Linked DNA regions of Homo sapiens: region 2 is linked to region 1. The links are contacts of gene promoters, found by promoter capture Hi-C in blood cells and fetal thymus (Javierre and others, 2016). All regions are on one chromosome and are shown on one strand. Each heading gives the region's core, a stretch centred on a gene start or on the middle of the fragment in contact. The rest is flanking DNA. Distances are from core to core; before and after follow the strand shown. Region 1 holds the start of TRUB1 (TruB pseudouridine synthase family member 1). Region 2 overlaps AFAP1L2 (actin filament associated protein 1 like 2).

Region 1 (6,034 bases), core at 2,635-5,134:
GGTGCTGTGGCTCACACCTGTAATCCCAGCACTTTGAGAGGCCGAAGCGGGCGGATCACGAGGTCAGGAGATTGAGACCATCCTGGCTAACACGGTGAAACACCGTCTCTACTAAAAATACAAAAAATTAGCCGGACGTGGTGGCGGGTGCCTGTAGTCCCAGCTACTCAGGAGGCTGAGGCAGGAGAATGGTGTGAACCTGGGAGGCGGAGTTTGCAGTGAGCCAAGATCACGCCACTGCACTCTAGCCTGGGCGACAGAGCAAGACTCCGTCTCAAAAAAAAATAAATAAATAAACAAAGGAAGCGAATCTCAACAAAACGTTATGTGGAAAGCAGCTAAGATTAAGTTGCACCTTAACTTCCTAAGCATTTAGATTTTTAAAAAGAGGATGCCAGCCCGGCTTATCTCATATTCCTGTTGTAAACATAAAGTGAGCCGGGCACAGTGGCTCATGCCTGTAATCCCAGCACTTTGGGAGGCCGAGATGGGTGGATCACTTGAACCTGGAAGTTTGAGACCACCCTAGGCAACACAGGGAAACCCTGTCTCTACCCAAAATAAAATACAAAAATTAGGTGGGCATGGTGGTGTGCACCTATAGTCCTTGCTACTGGGGAGGCTTAGGTGAGAGGACTGCTTGAGCTCAGGAGGCAGAGGTTGCAGTAAGCCAAGACTGTGCCACTGTATTCCAGCCTGGGCAACAGAGTGAGATCCTGTCCTGTTTAAAAAAAAAAAAAAGATAATGCAAAATAATGTTACTTGAAAGTACTTTGGGGAGACAGAGCCAGTGCTTCCTTCTGGATAAATATAAATTGTTTTTGATGATGGCATATAACATACTGAGAGAGTATTGGCTATTAGACTTCAAGTGAGAAAGAAGAGAAAAGCAGGAACTGCTACATTGATCTATACCTGCCCCCAAGCCCATCAAACCTTCCTTATCAACACTGACACTGAGCAGAAAGAAAATAAAGCAAAGAAAACGAAACGAGTGGACAGAGAAGGGAGGAGGGAAAACAAAGCAACAGTGGAAATGCAGAAGCCAGATTAAATGGCCAAAAGGATATGCTGGGTGGCTCGGCCTCCCAACAAAATTACCACTCTACTGAGTCAGAACCATGGTCTCTGGAACACCCTGGCGTCATTCCCTAATTATGACATCACCATACTTAGAAGGGTATGGTTGTCTGCTTTGACATAAACTTCTAAGGCCAGACCTCAGTTTCAAACCCTTGATCTGTCACTTGCAATCCATCATGGATCTCTCACTCATAAATTAACAGAAACCTTTTGGGGAACTCTTTACATTTTCAACTTGACACCCCTTGGAGTAAGAAGGCCCCATAAATATACTATCTTCCCTTTGTGCCCAAATATACCTCCTTCTAACTTGCAGACGTACTGCCTCTACTATATAAAGTGGGGAATTTGGTTCACCCCACTGAACTAAGTATTCGTGGATTTTTATTATTTTCTAGCTATAAAATTCTGGTACACTTAGGGCTTTGAAGGATCCCAACAGACAAACAGTAGAGATTGTAGCATAATAGGAATCAATGCAAAGAAAGACAAGGAATGGTATTAGAGGACACAACCACTGATCATGGTTGTCAAACATGGCATTAGAATGTAGGTATCTTTAAGAACCTTCCCAAGGCCGGGAGTGGTGGCTCATGCCTGTAATCCCAGCATTTTGGGAGGCTGAGGCGGGCAGATCACCTGAGGTCGGGAGTTCGAGCCCAGCCTGACCAACATGGAGAAACCCCGTCTCTACCAAAAATACAAAATTAGCTGGGCATGGTGGTGCATGCCTGTAATCCCAGCTACTTGGGAGGCTGAGGCAGGAGAATCACTTGAACCCAGGAGGGGAAGGTTGCAGTGAGCCGAGATCTTGCCATTGCACTCCAGCCTGGGCAACAACAGCGAAACTCCATCTCAAAAACAAAAACAAAAACAAAAACTTCCCAAGCAATTCTGACAGCCAATTACAATGACATTTGGAAAGCCCTAGCCTAACTAACATAAATACAAAATAGGCCAATCACAAGCAATATAGAAATCGAGGATAATGAGAATGTCTCTAGCTAAAGGTTCTAGCCTAGCAAGAGCCTTGAAACATTTTAACCAAGATTCAACAAGAAACTTCAGTTCTTAGAGGCAGATTAGCCAGAAGGCCAGAATATGGCTTTGTCAGAAACTTGTCTGAAAGAATGGTAATCATTACCTTAAGGATAAAAAAAAAAAAAAAAGAAAAGAAACCCAGAGTTTAGCTAACAAATCAGGAAAGCAGCAGTTCTATGAAGGAAAACTAAAAAACTATGATGATACCACAATACATATCCTTGATGCAATTCCTCACTTTGACGTCCTCTGTATGACCCATACTTTCAGGCAACAAAGCAAAACTTTAATAAAAGAATAAGTAGTCGTGATACTGGAATTAAACATCTGCAGGAGTGTACCTATTTGCCCATAAACACTTAAATCTGTACTGTCAGTTATAATTCCCATCAGAATAATTTGTTTTTGCATTTTTTTAAAGTGTAAAGTTTTCCATGGGACACTAAACAATGTAAGAAAGTCCCTGTTACTGGTTTAATGGCGAGACAGAATACGGCCAAACTCTGGAGGGCCTTGAATAACCTAACTAACTAGTTTTACCACCACAAGGTGCAGAAATTACTAGGCTATCAGCTCAGTTAAGGTAAGAGAGTTATCTTTCATCTTCAAGTCTCTATAGGCTAGCACAGACCTGGCTTATTGTATATGTCCAATGAACTTAAGGATCCTGGATGCTTTATGTGTGAAATCATCCGAGCTGATTAACGGGGTGATTCTCTAGGCTTTTCTACTATTTTCCCAGTGTACGTGAATAAACGAATCAATAAAATGAACACTCTCAGCTTAGTGGCCAAGTTATATTTAGTGTTCCTCAAATGTGGTCCATAAACTACTTACACTGGAATCACCTGGAGCAACTATTTAGAATTGCAGTTTCCTAAAAATACCCCGAACTCTCCGAATCACAATCTCGGACAGGGCAGGGATTAGGAATCTGTATTTGTACAAGAGACTCTAAGTAATTGTTAGGCCCATTAAAATGTGAAAACGACTATATTAAGTCTTGGTTAACGAAGTATATCTGCATTTCCAATACATTTTGAGGAATGCAACTTTAGGGGTGCAGAACCAGTACTTCCTTTTGGGGTTCATCCACATGAACCCAACAAAAGCCTCCTGAGGGATCGATCAGATTACAGAAAACAGGTCTGCACGCCCAAGGGCAGGGTTTTATTGTGTAAGTACGGGATTTTTTTCCTCCCGTTGAGAACTACAACTGCCAAGTAGGCTACAAGAGTTCGTGCCAGGGCAAGTCCAAGCCCGAGATGCCCGAGATTCCTGTCCAGAGCTAATTCAATGGTCAGTCTCCCTTTCCCCTCCTTTTGTCTCTTGAATCACGAGCGTCGCAAAAAGCCTAATGTGCTTCCCCTCTCGCAGCGACCGCCTCAGCCTGGTCCCCACCCGGGCTGCAGTACCTGCCAGCAGCTTCTCCTTCAACCGATTCAGCAGCTCGGCTGAAGTGGGCCCTTTGGGCTTGTGCACGGCGAACACGCCGCTCAAGGACAGCAGCTTGGTAGCCAAAGCGGCCTTGGAGACCCTGGCTTCGGATCCGGTCCTGGCCGCGGCCGCAACCACCGCGGCTGCAGCCCTTGCTGACGGGGTCGCAGCCATTGCTGCGACCGTTCCTGCAGTTTCAAGGACAGGGGATGTGTCTGTTTTCAAAGACGGCGAAGACACCACCGCCGCCTCAGAAGCGGCCATACTTTTGTAGCCCAGACCTGTTTCATCGTGGAGGTGCACGCTGATGATGCAACAAGAGTGCGCCTGACAGGACCCTCTTCCTCATACCGCGAAGCTGCGCAGAACGGAGAGGTCGCACGGACTTGTGGGAATTGTAGTCCATGGCCTTCCCATATAGACCAAGAGCTTGCTGTGCCCTTGGACTTTAAATAGAAAATTTTAAATGTTGACTTTTCCTGAGGCTTGTGAAGATCCATGGCTTCCTGGGCTCACTGCTTCATTGATTGTATTGTGCTCTTACATTCAGGTTCAGAATTAGAAGACATCCAAATGTGAGCTCTATTAGAGCAAGGAACTTATGTACCACGTTAACTGAGACATTCCCAAATGCCTCACATGTTGTAGGCACTTAAATAAATATTTGAAAACGTATAAATAAGTATGAATTCTTCAAATTCCCCGAAGAAACCAAGCCAATGGTAAATCACTTGTGCTTATTTTGATGCTCTTCATGCACTCCTGTTCACCCTCCCCAAACCCCCACTGACCCCACTACAATTTTTAATAATTCTGATTTTGAATATCAGCTCTTCTGTGGGTTGAATTCCTTAGTACACTTTGTTTAGATATCAAAAGGTATTCTTGCAATTCATAAACTTTAAACCACTTCCCATTTGAGACCTTCTCCCTAAAAGTTATTCACTCCCTAACAAGATTGAGGAATATTGTTTTGATTCCAGCACAAGGCAGAGTGGAGAAAAATTACTTCTGCACCAGAAACATTAAATGCTATCATAACTATTGTGAGACAGATAAAGTTTGCCCTCATTGTTTTTTAGGTTTCTTTACAACCACTCTTTGTCCTCATCATACTCTTGGACTTTAATATCTAGTATTTTAGTGATGCCCCTTAGCTGCTCACAATCACCAGTTATGGGGTCCCATTTGAACTTGCACCCATTCGTGCAACAGACACATGGCAGAACAATTTATTAAAAGGAAAAAAAAATCTTTGAGGGAGTTTTTTCAGGGTGGAAAGCTGAAACTCCTAGAAGGAAGTCACTTACTCTTGTGGTCTATTATAAAAGCCTAAGCTAACTGAAAAGATTGGCATATCACAGGATTAGTGGACACCTGGCCCTGCTTCAAGATGTTAATTTTTCCACAAAGATGTTGTGACTTCAGAAGGGATGACTGCACCCAAAGGAGCATGGTGTCCATTAGCCTCAGGAAAGAGTTCTCTATTCTTGTGCCATGGAAGCAGAGAGCCAGGGACTTGCAGGGAAGGTTGCAAGGCTTGATCAATGATGACTTGGATGACTCCAAGGCACTTGGAGATTAGAGGCCTTTTCCCAATTGTCCGGACATCAGCAAGCCTCCCTATTTCTCTTGTGGCTCTGGGGGTGAGGGATGCAGAGGGAGAACAGAACTAGGGGTAACATATGATGCTTATATTTGAATTTTCCATCAGCCCAGTGTAGGACCAGAGTTAATCTGATTTAAAGAAAATGAAGAAATGTATATTTCTTGCATGTTTGATTTCTGGGATGCTAGGACACAACAAAATTAATGCTACTCTGCTATTATATCGGCATTCTTGGGATCAGAAGCACCAAGCTTTGTTTTTCTAAGGTAATCAACATCTCCCACATTGGGCAGGCCTTGAATTCACAGGTTTTTTTTGCTCCAATACATGTATGAGTTTGGGCTCTTTGGTCAACAGAAAACTGATTCATACCAGCTTGGGGGCACAGGGGGAGAAGATTTATCAGAAATACACTGACACACTATTCAGAACCTAGAAAGTTCTCTGTCTCTAGCTGCACATCCTTCTTTTATGCTACTCACTTGTGTCTTTTTTTTTTTTTTTTTTTTTTTTGAGACAGAGTTTCACTCTTGTTGCCCAGGCTGGAGTGCAGTGGCACAATCTCAGCTCACTGCAACCTCCGCCTCCCGGGTTCAAATGATTCTCCTGCCTCAGACTCCTGAGTAGGTGGGATTACAGGCATGTGGCACCATGCCCAGCTAATTTTGTATTTTTAGTAGGGACGGGGTTTCTCCATGTTGGTCAGGCTGGTCATGAACTCCCAACCTCAGGTGATCCGCCTGCCTCGGCCTCCCAAAGTGCTGGGATTACAGGCACGAGCCATCACGCCTGGCCCACTTGTGTCTTTATTCCTCTTTCCTGTTTCTAACAGGCCTTTTATTCTAACTCTTCATTCCACATCCT
Region 2 (5,423 bases), core at 1,611-4,110, 630 kb after region 1:
TGCATCTGCGCCCCCTTCTGCATCTGTGTCCCCTCCTGCATCTGCGTCCCCTCCTGCATCTGCGTCCCCTCCTGCAGCCCCGACCCCTCCTGTACCTGCACCCCCCCTGCATCTGCATCTCCTCCTGCAGCCCCGTCCCCTCCTGCACCTGTGTCCCCTCCTGCACCCGCGTCCCCTCCTGCCCCTGCGCCCCCTCCTGCACCCGCGTCCCCTCCTGCACCCGCGTCCCCTCCTGGATCTGCCTCCCCTCCTGCAGCCCCGACGCCTCCTGCATCTGCGTCCCCTCCTGCAGCCCCGACCAGTCCTGTACGTGCACCCCCTCCTGCATCTGCATCTCCTCCTGTAGCCCCGTCCCCTCCAGCCCCGCTCCCTCCTGCAGCCCCGTCCCCTCCTGCACCTGCATCCCCTCCTGCATCTGCATCTCCTCCTGCATCTGCATCCCCTCCTGCATCTGCATCTCCTTCTGCAGCCCCGTCGCCTCCTGCATCTGCGCCCCCTCCTGCATCTGTGTCCCCTCCTGCAGCCCCAACCCCTCCTGTACCTGCACCCCCTCCTGCATCTCCTCCTGCAGCCCCGTCCCCTCCTGCATCTGCGTCCCCTCCTGCACCTGCGTCCCCTCCTGCATCTGCGTCCCCTCCTGCATCTGCATCTCCTTCTGCAGCGCCGTCCCCTCCTGCAGCCCCGCTCTCTCCTGCAGCCCCGCTCCCTCCTGCAGCCCAGTCCCCTCCTGCATCCGCGACCCCTCCTGCAGCTCCGTCCCCTCCTGCGTCCGCATCCCCTCCTGCATCCGCGTGCCCTCCCACATCCACGTCTCCTCCCGCAGCCCCGCCCCCTCCTTTATCTGCATGCCCTCCCGCAGCCCCGCCCCCTCCTTCATCTGCGTCCCCTCCTGCAGCCCAGTCCCCTCCTGCAGCCCAGTCCCCTCCTGCATCTGCGTCCCCTCCTGCAGCCCGGTCCCCTCCTGCATCTGCGTCCCCTCCTGGAGCCCAGTCCCCTCTTGCATCCGCATCCGCTTCCCCTCCCGCAGCCCCGCCCCCTCCTGCATCTGTGTGCCCTCCCGAAGCCCCGCCCCCTCCTGCATCTGCGTCCCCTCCTGCAGCCCTGTCCCCTCCTGCATCTGCACTTCCTCCTGCAGGTTACCTGAACGTGCTGGTGAACAGCCAGTGGAAGTCTCGCTGGTGCTCTGTCAGGGACAATCACCTGCACTTCTACCAGGACCGGAACCGGAGCAAGGTGGCCCAGCAACCCCTCAGCCTGGTGGGCTGCGAGGTGGTCCCAGACCCCAGCCCCGACCACCTCTACTCCTTCCGCATCCTCCACAAGGGCGAGGAGCTGGCCAAGCTTGAGGTACCGCCGGCCTGCAGGGGGAGCAGGGCCAGCCAGGGTGTGGCGGTGGTGGCTGTTTGCTGCCAGTCTCCAGGACTGTAATGCTACTAAGGGAGAATCAATGTCCCCGCGTGTTATTTTTACTTCGTTTGCCTGAGATTGTTTGCATTTTTAAAAATTTCCATTCCTTTTCTGACCTCAGAGTAGTTGCGTTATAAGAGTGGAACCATGCGCTACTTCCTGCACTTAGGGCAGAAGGAGTATTTTTAGTTCTCTGAGCTACTGGAAAAGCTGCTGGGGATTCAAAGTGGGTGTTGTTTTGTTTGGGTATCACCAGCTGGGAGAGCCTCTAGGCCCAGTACGTAAAAACCACACTGTTAGAGCTTATCTGGGGGAAAAAATTCGCTTTGTGATACAATTACATTCCTCTCGCTCCCCATCCTCCCTTTGATGTGATGTTACGTTTACAAAAATAAGAAGTGACATAACGCTTTGCAAGCTGCGGCAGGCGGAGACCGAGTCCCTTCCACGCATGGAAGCACACACTTGCCCGTGAATGTCCGTTCACTTAGTCTTTGATGTGGAGGTCCTCATCCAAACTTTGCTCCAATCCTGCCCTCTGGTGGCTGAAAGACCCACATCGCAATTGCTTCCCAGGGTCCAGCTTGTAGCTTATATTCATCCATTCAGAGGTTCCCCATCAACAGACATCTTCTCAGCACAGGAATATGGTGGACAAGAGCAATATGGACTCCGTCCTTGTGGCACTTACATCCTAGTTTGGGAGTGTGATGTTATTCAGCAAATTACCCAGCCAATCGCTGGGCTACAATGGCTGGAAAGAAGTGGGGAGGGTGCTATAGACTTGTACTGGGGTCTGGGTGACAGGCTGGAGCGGGAGGGACAGGGCTTGATCCTAGGAGCAACGGAGCCCTGATGGCTTTCAGGGGAGGGCGGCAAGCTCAGATCGGGGTTTTGAGATGCTTCCTCCAGCTACTGGGGTGGGAGTGGATCGGAGGGGGCAAGAAGGGACCTGCTAGGAAGCTGTCGCAGCTGTCCAGGGCAGAGACGCAGCCTGGACTAGGGGAGGCCCATGAAAAGCTGTATTTAGAATCCAGTTGAAACTAAGTGGGGGCCGGGCATGATGGCCCACGCCTGTAACCCCAGCACTTTGGGAGGCTGAGGCAGGTGGATCACCCGAGGTCAGGAGTTTGAAACCAGCCTGGCCAACATGGTGAAACCCTGTCTCTACTAAAATACAAAAATTAGCTGGGTGTGGTGGTGGGCGCCTGTAGTCCCAGCTACTTGGGAGGCTGACACAGGAGAATTGCTTGAAGCCGGGAGGCAGAGGCTACAGTGAGCCAAGATCCCACCGCTGCACTCCAGCCTGGGCGACAGAACAAGATTCTGTCTTTAAAATAAAAAAAAACTGGGAAAAGGAAACCAACTAAATGTCAAATTCTGCTCATCACGGCCTCTTTGATGAAGAGAATGTAGCAGCAAACGTGATGGAGCTATGGGTTATACCAAAGGGGGCTGATTTTCCTCATCAAAATAAACCTATAGCTTTGATTAAATGGGCAGTTTTTTCTCATTATAAAGGTAAGAAACAGTGTGGACATTTTAATTGAGGTACCCAATGGATGCATTTGATTAGAATGCATTGTCCCCTGGAAAAAAAAATACCAAATTCACTGGGATTTTGATGATGATTTAGCAGCTGAGCTAGTGTAAGGTATTTAAAAGATGTCCCGACTTTACTGAAGCCATGAACAAAATAAATTTGAATGTTGTTATTTCTTGGGGATCCAGGAAGTCTTGTTGTATATGGGATTGGGGGAATGACATGCATTGTTCATAAAATACAAGTGTCAACTTAAAAGACATACAATTTTTTAATCATTTTAAAAACTATTAATTAACAGGTGGTCACTAACAGTTTTTAATAGTGACCACCTGGTGATAAGTTTTCACCTCCTAGAAACACAATGTATATACATCTCATATGGCCCTTGGGACAAAAGTCCACAGCATTATTGAGGTGGCATCAAGATGTCACTGACGACAGGAAATATTATCTGGGGCCACTGGGGGGTGGGATAGGCTGGTGAACAGGAGAAGCACAGCCCCGGGCTGTTACAGAGGCTTTCGTGGGCAGGCTCAGGGGTAGGGGTACGGTCATGGCCTGGTGGGGAGGGGCTGGCACCAGGCAGCACTGCCTGGCCCTGCTTATGTCTCTCTTGGCCTCGTTCCAGGCCAAGTCTTCCGAGGAAATGGGCCACTGGCTGGGTCTCCTGCTCTCTGAGTCAGGCTCCAAGACAGACCCAGAAGAGTTCACCTACGACTATGTGGATGCCGATAGGGTCTCCTGTATTGTGAGTGCGGCCAAAAACTCTCTCTTGTGAGTAATTTGGACCCTTCCTCCGTACACTCTCTTATTCCTGGCCATGCTGTAGGCCCTGGGTCAGCCAGAGTCAGGGGCAGCAGGGAGCACAGGGTCCCACCCCACTCTGCCCAGCAGCAGGAAAATGTGAAGCCAAGGAGTAGCCCTCAGGGAGGCCCGGCCAAGAGCCAGGAGCTGAGCTAAGAGCAAGGAGCCGAGCCAGGCTTCGGGCCCCGGGGGCAGCTTTGGCATCCTCAGAGGCAGTTAGACTCTCCAGCTCCTCCAGGCAGAGCTGTCACCTTTCCTGACCTCCTACTTGTCCTTCTGGTGAATCCCTCACTGGGTCTCCAGCACACCCTGGAGAAAAGCAGGTCAGGGGGTGGTGCTTCTGTTTCCAGATGAGCAAACTAGGGCTGAGGGAGAGGGCGTTCTCTGGTCAGGGTGGTAGAGCCAGTCTCGTGGAAGCCGGCTGAGCCACTGAAACAGAATCAGTTTTCTCATGGACCAAACGGGGATAGTGTCTGGCCTGCGCCACCCCAAGTGTATTGTGAAGATGAAATGAGAAGGGGTTTTTTGTTGTGGTTGCTGGAAGGAGATCCTAGAAGGGAGGAATGGGGGAGAAGATGGCAAAGGGATCCTAGGACGAGGCGTATGGGCAAGGGAAGCTTGTCTTTCTGGGAGGAAAATCTCGAACCAAGAATTTCAGGAAGAAGGCACTGGGAAAAGAGGGAGGAGGTGCCCTCAGATCCATGGAGGTGAGTGTCAGCCCCCAGATCTCTTGTGTGGCCACCACTTTCACGGCAACCACTCCTCACTGGGAATCCTTGGAGTCTGGTGCTTTCACCACCCTGCCCCGGCTGCTTCATGTGTGCCACCTCGCCCTGTTTCCAGACTGATGCAGAGAAAGTTCTCAGAGCCCAACACTTACATCGATGGCCTGCCTAGCCAGGACCGCCAGGAGGAGCTGTATGACGACGTGGACCTGTCAGAGCTCACAGCTGCGGTAAGGACCCGGCCAGGCAGTGGCCTGGGCCTCTCCAGGCCCTCCTCCTACCAACCTCAACACCTGGATGCCAGAGATCATTAGAGTATCCCTGAGATGAGATGAGTGGGTTCTGAGTCACCTACCAGGCCAGTAGTGCAGACACCTAAGTGCAACAAGGCTGTCTCCTATATGTGAGGCTGTGCAGTTTGCTTGGCTTGGGGACTTATCTAGATGAAACACCGGTGAACCCCTCTCGTCAGGGCTAGGGGTGTGGTGGTGGGATTGGGAGTGGAGGTACCAGTAGGCTTCCAGGTCCAAATCGGTTGTTGAGTGGGATGATCACACCGATGGCAACTTCCACGTTTTGGGCACTGAACCCTGTGCTGAGCTGAGGACCTCCTGCAGATGATCTCCTTGAATCCTAACCACCTTATGGGAAGATGCTGCTCTTTTCCTCTTTACAGATGAGGAAATAAGGTTCAGGGAAGTTAAGTGCTCTGTCTGGGTCTTCCACCTCGAGTGACATATCTAGGACTCAGCCAGTGGCCCCCCCAGCAGGGAGGGAGATCTCTTGGAACACTGTGAGATGGGCACCAGAACTGTGAGGCAGGGCTGGTACCCCCTCCACAGCTGAGGGAGTAGAGGTAATGTTGAATGCCCCAGACTCACTCTCTCCTGCAGGTGGAGCCTACCGAGGAAGCCACCCCTGTTGCAGATGACCCAAATGAG

What was found. Contacts are between HindIII fragments. The CHiCAGO score rates a contact against its expected background, and 5 or more counts as called.
Region 2: a contact is called between a fragment that was not itself captured here and the fragment with the promoter of TRUB1 in region 1, in 1 of 17 cell types (fetal thymus). The highest score is 5.4, in fetal thymus.

The regions. Positions count from the first base shown.
Region 1 is chr10:114,936,045-114,942,078 of GRCh38, reverse strand. It overlaps TRUB1 (TruB pseudouridine synthase family member 1), which reads right to left and starts at 3,884. Exons shown (of 8, transcript NM_139169.5): 1 at 3,540-3,884. The coding sequence starts at 3,825. RefSeq lists an enhancer at 3,513-4,052. The HindIII fragment of the contact is 6,581 bases long and covers 1-5,423 here.
Region 2 is chr10:114,300,643-114,306,065 of GRCh38, reverse strand. It overlaps AFAP1L2 (actin filament associated protein 1 like 2), which reads left to right. Exons shown (of 19, transcript NM_001001936.3): 11 at 1,136-1,347; 12 at 3,582-3,727; 13 at 4,601-4,712; 14 at 5,376-5,423. Among named protein-coding and RNA genes, the nearest start is that of VWA2, 64 kb to the right of the region's middle. RefSeq lists a silencer at 1,048-1,097. The HindIII fragment of the contact is 3,033 bases long and covers 1,344-4,376 here.